Regions from separate parts of the Homo sapiens genome. Here regions 2 and 3 are each linked to region 1. Evidence: promoter capture Hi-C in human tissues and cell types (Jung and others, 2019). All regions are on one chromosome and are shown on one strand. The core of a region is centred on a gene start or on the middle of the fragment in contact, and the rest is flanking DNA. Distances in the headings are between cores, read along the strand shown.

Region 1 (2,700 bases), core at 94-2,593:
AGAGACAGGATTATTAAGGGGGGATTCTGTGCAGGCGGAAGCCTGTGGTCCTTCTCAATTTGATACTGGAGATGATCAGGAAAGCCTCAGCTTCTCCCAGAATGAATTGAGAGGACCTTCCTTCCACTATAGCGACCAAGATCTCCACCTAAGGGGCGCTCACTGGAAGTTTGCTGAAATCCCAAATCAGCATGCTCCTGATTTCAGAAGCTGCCATCCACCTTTGCACTTCAACACAAAATCCACCACATCCTAGGCTCCAGCCCTGGAACACCAAATGAAGCCACACAAGTTCTGCACACCAAGACCTCTTCAATGGAAGGAAAATGACCACTGAGTTTGGTCCACCCTTTTCCCACCTCCCGTACCAAATCCCAAATCATCAAAACAGGCCCAACTCTGCATCTTACAGCCAGGGAAACTGGGGACCACCAGGCCAGGGCCCTCCATCACCAATGTCCCCCCCAGAACTGGCCAGGCTCAGTCACCACTCAGTGGACCCCAGCCCTCAGCAAGCACTCTTCCCCAACAGCCTTTACACACATTCTCTCTCTCTCTCTCTCTCTTACTTTTTCTTGGATAATTTCTTTAGCAAGGTACTTCAAAACAAGCTTTTAGTTTAATCTATTTCCATTTTGTGAGCAATGGTTCTTCCTAGAGTCCTGATTTCTTGCCGAAGAAGGCATTAGGAGAGGATGGCTCAGAGAGTCGCCCCGCTTCCCCTCTCAGCCAGTTCCAGGACACACACAGGCGTCCACACACTGAGGGGCCCTGGGAGGACCAGCTACCCAGTCCGGAGTCCACCCGCCCACGCCCCTGTGAGTGGTGGGCAGGCACTCAATGCCAGGACAGAGAGCTCACTACCTTACAGACAGCCCACCCTGGGGGATAAGGGGTAAAGAGCCAGACCTGGTCCACCTCTTCTCGCCCACCCTGAGGCGACCCCAGAACCGGGGCGTGGGGGGACATCACAACTAGAAGGACCGGGGGCTGCCGGACCCTGCCGTCAGAAGACCCCGGAGGGGGCCCTGTGCCTCCCTTGCCCGCCAGAGTCCTTCGCCTTCAGCTTCTCCCGGGTGGAACCCTCCCGCAGAGCCTGGGAATCCCGCCAGGGTCACTGTGCGCCCCTCCCGAGCTCCGGGGCAAGGGAAGGACCGCGGCGCAGGTGCGGGAAGGCGCGGGTCCACCCGGGTCCGGTGAACCCCGAGGAGTGGGGGCGCCCCCGGTGCGGGCCGTCGCCCCCTTACCGCAGAGCAGCAGCAGCAACGGGAGAAGTTGCGGGCGCCGCAGCGCTCCAGTCTCCATGGCTGGCCGGCCGCAGCTGGGTCACGCTCGGTCCCGCTGGGGGCGCGGCTGGGGGACGCCCGGTTGGGGTTGGGGTGGGGCGGGGCCTCAGGGGGTCCGCCCTCAGGCCGCACCCCCAGACCACGCCTGCGGCCGTGCCCCGTTGCCTCCAGATGTGGGGTGCAGTCCCTGCAGGCGCGCCGGGTGGGAGGGATGGGGGCGGCTGGAGTCTCAGCGGGGTGAGAGGGGGGCGAGGGCAGGGTTTCGAGCTGGGGACAAGCTGGGGTAAGGTGGGGTGCCGGCTGATGGGCTCTGAGGGCGGGGCTGGGGTGCTGAGCTGCAAAGGAGCTTTTTGGGAGCAGATTGTAGGGGCAGACTGGGAGGTGAGCTGGGGTGAGCGTGGGGGCCGGCTGACGGTGGGCTGGGATGCAGGCTGGAGAGACTTGGGGAACTTCCGTCCAGGCTCAGGGGCAGAGGGTGGGGGTAGACCGGGGAGGGAGCTGAGGTGAGGATGAAGCGCTGGCTGATGATGGCCTAGAGGAGTCTGGGGGTAGACTGGAGGAAGGTGGACCTGGGAGTGGGCTAGGTGTGCCCTGGCCGAAAGTAGACCAGAGTCCAGAGCTGCCCCCAGGCAGGGAGGGGAACTTTGAGCAGAGATACATCTAGGAGCCAGGTCTCCAAAGGTCAGGAAAGTGCATAAAAGAGGTTGGGGGGTGTGTGTGTGTGCGTCTGTGTGTGTGCGTGTGTGTGTTGTTCATGGAGTACGTGTGTGTGATGTGCATGTGGGGTGTGTGTAGATGCATGTGTGTGCATGGAGTGTGTGATGTATGGTGTGTGTGTGGCATGTGTGTGTTTGAGTCTGAGACAAGGTGTGTTTGTGAGTGTATGCTTGGGAAACAGTGTGTATGAGAGAGACTGGAGGGTGTGGCAACTACACACACAGAGACGTATCACACACCAAGAACCAAGCCACAAGCAAACCAAGGGACAGGAGAGTATCTGGCACCACCAAAGACCTGGCCTTGAAGAGTGTCAGGGTCCCTGAGGCGAAGGAGGGCCTCAGTTTCTCCAGCCACAGGTCACTTGGCCAGATGGGTCACCTCTGTCACCCTCAGCCCCTAGCACAGGCCCTGGCTCCAGTGGACACTTAATGGTGTCTTAAGAATTGTCACTGGTCAGGACTTCCGAGAGCCAGCTAGAGGCACCTCTCTGCCCTCCAGGGCCCACCCACCACCCCTGGGGGCACATGCTGGTCTGAGGTTGGGGCACAGGCCCAGGCTCCTACATGGATGGGCCCTCCACTCCTCTGAGCCGTAGGTACTGCTACCTTCCCAGGAGCTGAGCTGAACTTCTCCTGGCTTAGAAAGACCCACTTTATTTAACAAGACCCTTATTCGGGAGAAGAACTTTCTGTGC
Region 2 (2,700 bases), core at 70-2,569, 280 kb after region 1:
TGGGAGCAATAGTATTTTTGATGTTTTAATGACATCCGTATACTTGTACTGTATTTTGTACTACAAGGCAGCTGTTTTTCAATAATGTCCTGCTGTATTTACCTACGTGTTTTGAGTGTCTATTTCTTTGCTGCGGAGAACAAATTCCTAAATAGTTTTAGTAAAGGAGCTGAGAAGCTAGCATTAGGTTTGCAGAAACTATTTAAGTTTCAACTCTGAGGCAGCAATGAAAATTTAAGTTGCAGCTATTAGTTGATTGCTGTAACTTTTTCATTTTCAAACCATGTACAATTCTTGTATAGACCAACTTGTTTTCTTGCTTCAGTGGTGGTTCTGTTGCTCAGCTGCAGTGAGCCAGTTCAATTTTGCAAAGGTGCAGTACCTCTCCTTTTTAAGGGGTTGGTTTATTCTTTTTTCTTTTTGTTTGGCTGAATTGCAGTAACTAGCCTTGCCTTTCTATTCTGTAGAAATGACAGGGTCTTCACAATCCTTCACCAGTGGCTACTAAGCTATAATTAGCTGAATAGAAAGAATGTGGAAGTGGTCTGAGGCATATAGAGTATATGCCAAGAACACTACCATATATGGCATCAGCTTTGGTTACCAGAGAAATTTTCTTAGTCATTAGACCATGTAACAGTAATATATCATATGTAAATCTTTAGATATCAATTTGAAAATCCTCCAAAAAAAGGAGCAAAGAATGCATAAGCTATGTGTTGGCAAAAGTAATTTATATTAAAATTTTGACCTGCCTATGTAAGATTAAGTGGTAATGTCATAGTGGTGGGTTTTTAAGTCTTAACCAATCTCTAAGGTTTGTTTCTCCTGCAAGGGATGGTTCATGGCCTCTCTTCCCACTGCAGGAAGATTGCAGAAGGCTGTGGATTAATTGTAGCATTTCACTGATCTTCACTCCAGTCACTAGGGACAATAGAAACCTGCAAAACACAGATTCATTCGTAAATATTATTAATAGCTTATTAAAGGAAATGGTCTTTGTTAATTCCAGTCAGATAATGGCATTGTACAGACATGGGAAACAACCAATTTTTTTGTTTTTCAGTTGTTGCTATGAATGATTTTGAGCCTTTTTTTTTAAGCTTGGCAAACATCCCAGCTAATCAAAATAGTCATATTCCTGAGAAGTAGGAAACTAAAACTTCTTTTCATATAATTGTTAGAAGGTTTGTTTCCCAAACTACCATAGTTACAAAGGTGAAAAGCCAAATTTTAGGAACAGAATCAAAAGAATAAAAATCTGTGAAGAGATCCTACTACTCTTCCTTCTATGTTTTGGTTTTGGTTTCTATTGTCCCTATCATTTCAGCAAGTGGAACAGCAGCAAGTTTTTCAGTGCATATGCTGCACAAGAACAAAATATAAATCTGTATGGCACCAAAAATCAAAGTGAAAACCAAACCAAAAACCCAAACACCCTATGTAACTATCGGAGGCATATACGTGGTATAAATGACTGTAGCTGTGATACACACATGGCTACTTGTCACATCACTTTCCATAATTATTTACTGCAAAATGATTGAGAGGCTTTTGGTGCAGGCAGCCGTTAACCTCCTGCTTCCTTTGTTACCTCTGGATTACTTTGCAGTAAATTGCAGGTCTTTTAAGAGATTTAAGCTTCAGTTTTCTCAAAACAAAACAATTATCCTGTCTTATCTGAAGATGCAGGGTTGTGGGCAAAAGAGGCTGGTTATAATAATGCCCTCATATTGAGTGGTCTGTAAACGGCTGCACACTTCAGGCACTGTAGTTGCTGAAGATGCTTTGTTAAATGTGACCTTGACTGGCTTTACAGGGGTGTAGAATGTAATCTACACAAGGTGACTTTGCATCTATCTTGCTCTTGAGGTGGATGAAATTGAGAAGCTGGAGTGTGTAAGCCATGCACATAAGTATTCTTCACTGTAAATTTTGTTTTCATTTTTAACCCAATTATGGTACTTTATCCAATGCACAACTGATCTCTCAGTAGATATTCATTTGAAAATAGTGTGGCCTTGATCAGTGAGAAAGGGAAGGAGAAAAGTGACTTTTTTGCTTATGTAGAAATGACTCATTTGCTGAGAGTTTGTCTTTCTGCAGCACTCTTGGTATATAGTGATCGGTCTCCTTTTTGATTGGGGAAAGTTAATGTTTTTGACCCTGGAGTTAATTCAGTTGAGTTATCTTATATTTTTAGGAAGTATCAGAATTGCTCTGATGAATAACAAAGTTGACTGTTTTGATGTCCAATCTCAGGTTTTAGAATATAGTGGTGTAAAGTCCCACTATTTTTAATTCTTAAAACAACTTTAATTTCGTACACCCTAAAAGTCACATGCATAAGGCCTGTTCAGAGAGCAGAGCCTCCATCTTTTTGCTCCTTTTCTACTTTGTACTTCACTTGAAAAAATATCAAGTGACTTTACATTGTATATTTCCATTGTAACCCTGACATTTCTCAAAGATAAAGCACTTTTTGATCATGAAATACATGAAATCTTTGTGTGATGTGGATCATAGTTTCTCAGGCTCCCTTAGATAATTGCTTATGAATATTGTTCTAACTCTGTGTAAGAAGAGTAGAAATCTTTGCTAATGTTAGAAGGTTTGTATTATTGATCCAGAATGCATTTTGCTAGTTTCCAATGGATGGGAGAGTAAATAATGCTGCATTCACAATTTAATAAGTTACTT
Region 3 (2,700 bases), core at 97-2,596, 350 kb after region 1:
GGAGAATCACTTGAACCTAGGAGGTGGAGGTTGCAATGAGCTGAGATTGTGCCATTGCACTCCAGCCTGGGTAACAAGAGCGAAACTCTATCTCAAAAAAAAAATAATAAAAATATGGAATACATGTGTAGAACATGCGGGTTTGTTACATAGGTATATGTGTGCCATGGTGGTTTGCTGCACCTATTAACCCTGAAATAGAATTTTATTTATTTATTTATTTTGAGACAGAGTCTCGCTCTGTTGCCCAGGCTGGGGTGCAATGGTACGATCTTGGCTCACTGCAGCCTTCATCTCCCAGGTTCAAGCGATTTTCCTGCCTCGGCCTCCTGAGTAGCTGGGATTACAGACATGCACCACCATGCCTGGCTAATTTTGTATTTTGAGTAGAGATGGAATTTCACCATGTTGGCCAGGTTGGTCTCGAACTCCTGACCTCAAGTGATCTGCCCACCTCGGCCTCCCAAAGTGCTGAGATTACAGGCATGAGCCACCGTACCTGGACTGAAAAAGAATTTTAAAAAGCAATAAACATAAAAACACATTATAAGAACAAGGGGGAACATCTGACTGTGAACCAGATATTATAGATTTTACAGATTTTCTGAGGTGGAGAAAGGCATTGGCTGACTTTCCCAGAAATAGTTCTTGTGTTCTCAAAGACCCTGAGGCCACACTCTAACCCAGCCTGCTCAACTTGCCTTCTCCTGGGAGCCTGCCTCATAATAGTGGCAATTTCGACCTTTCTTTGCACAATTAGGTTTGTGCTTGCTTCTCACTTTTTCTCAATATGTTTTTAGGGACACAGGTGCTAGAGATTGATGAACACAAAAATTGGAATCATGGGCTGAGCACGCCTGTAATCCCAGCACTTTTGGAGGCCGAGGCAGGAGGATCACCTGAGGTAGGGAGTTCGAGACCAGCCTGACCAACATGGAGAAACCCAGTCTCTACTAAAAATACAAAATTAGCCGGGCATGGTGGCACATGCCTGTAATCCCAACTACTCGGGAGGCTGAGGCAGGAGAATCGCTTGAACCTGGGAGGCGGAGGGTTGCGGTGAGCCGAGATTGCATCATTGCACTCCAGCCTGGGCAACAAGAGCAAAACTTCATCTCAAAAAAAAAAAAAAAAATTGGAATCATGGTTCCCTCTGAAGAGGAAAGAGCGTGCAACTGAAGAGGGCTTGCAAAGGGCATTTCTGGGATACTAGTAGATATGCTGGGGTTCTTTTTATTTCTGGTCTTTAAACTGTATTTTATAGACTTGTGGTAGGCAACTCTTAAAGATGGTCCCTTATCCCCACCTCTATAAATTGGGTTTCATCATGTTGGCAAGGCTGGTCTCGCACTCCTGACCTCGTGATTCACCCGCCTTGGCCTCCCAAAGTTCTGGGATTACAGGCATGAGCCACCATGCCCGGCCGCCTGGGTAATTTTTCTGTTTTTAATATAGACAGAGTTTCACCATGTTGCACAGGCTGGTCTTGAACACCTGGGTTCAAGCGATCTGCCTGCATTGGCCTCCTGGGTGCTGGGATTACGGGCGTGAGCCACCATGCCCAGCCTAGAATATTTGTAAAGGGATCAGAAGGGGTCTATCACACAGTTACTGTGATATTTCTTCTGAGCCTTCTCTGAACCAAGCTTTAGCCTAGGTACTGGGATACACTGGTGAAAAGCTAGACAAATCCCTGCTGGGTGTTTACACACTAACAGAACTGTTCATGCATGTACCATGTGCTAACCACTCTTCTAAGTACTTCATATCTAATCCCCACAACTCTGAGAAGCAGAGTTTTTAGTTTTTTGGTTTTTTTTTTTGAGCTGGAGTCTTGCTCTGTCACCCAAGTCTGGAGTGCAGTGGCACAATCTCCGCTCACTGCAACCTCTGCCTCCCGGGTTCAAGTGATTCTGGTGCCTCTGCCTCCCAAGTAGCTGGGATTACAGGGGCGTGCCACCACGCCCAGCTAATTTTTGTATTTTTAGTAGAGACGGGGTTTCACCATGTTGTCCAGGGTGGTCTCAAACTCCTGATCTCAGGTGATCTGCCTGCCTCAGCTTTCCAAAGCGTTAGGATTACAGGCGTGAGCCACCACGCTGGGGCAAGTATCTTTTTTTTTGTTTGAGACGGAGTCTCTGTCATCCGGGCTGGAGTGCAATGGGGCCAATTTCGGCTCACTGCAACTTCCACCTCCCAGGTTCAAGCGATTCTCCTGCCTCAAGCCTCCTAAGTAGCTGGGATTACAGGCGCATGCCACCATGCCTGGCTAATTTTTGTATTTTTAGTAGAGACGGAGTTTCACCATGTTGGTCAGGCTGGTCTCGAATTCCTGGACTCAGGTGATCCACCCGCCTCAGCCTCCCAAAGTGCTGGGATTACAGGTCTGAGCCACTGTGCCCGGCCCTGAGTATCTTCTTATTCACTGTGTAAGGCGTGGATATATACAGCAAACTCACAGTGTGGTCTAGGCAAACTCCCGCCTCTCAGCTTGTAAGTTTCCTAAGGGTTTCCATGAGAGCCTCCAACCAGCAGAAAAATGATGGGTTTTCCTGGTTACCTTTCTTCCAAGCTCCACTTCTTTCTCAGGGTAGCCATTTGAGACCTTTCTGACCAGGTCAAATCTTACTACACAAGCTGATGCCGCAATACCAGCTTGGCATCTGACTCACTTTCCTTTTTCTTTTTTTTTTGAGACAG

The links. Contacts are between HindIII fragments. The study calls those that stand out against the background at their distance.
Region 2: a fragment that was not itself captured here is called in contact with the fragment with the promoter of RAMP3 in region 1 in 2 of the 25 tissues and cell types used here (lymphoblastoid cells and mesenchymal stem cells).
Region 3: a contact is called between a fragment that was not itself captured here and the fragment with the promoter of RAMP3 in region 1, in 1 of the 25 tissues and cell types used here (spleen).

The regions. Positions count from the first base shown.
Region 1 is chr7:45,156,434-45,159,133 of GRCh38, reverse strand. RAMP3 (receptor activity modifying protein 3) reads right to left here and starts at 1,343. Exons shown (of 3, transcript NM_005856.3): 1 at 1,248-1,343. The coding sequence starts at 1,305. The HindIII fragment of the contact is 28,590 bases long and covers 1-2,700 here.
Region 2 is chr7:44,879,632-44,882,331 of GRCh38, reverse strand. PURB (purine rich element binding protein B) reads left to right here. Exons shown (of 1, transcript NM_033224.5): 1 at 1-2,700. It overlaps MIR4657 (microRNA 4657), which reads left to right and starts at 532; the gene lies at 532-584. The HindIII fragment of the contact is 4,835 bases long and covers 1-2,700 here.
Region 3 is chr7:44,805,153-44,807,852 of GRCh38, reverse strand. No RefSeq gene overlaps it. Among named protein-coding and RNA genes, the nearest start is that of PPIA, 9.8 kb to the right of the region's middle. The HindIII fragment of the contact is 4,337 bases long and covers 1-2,700 here.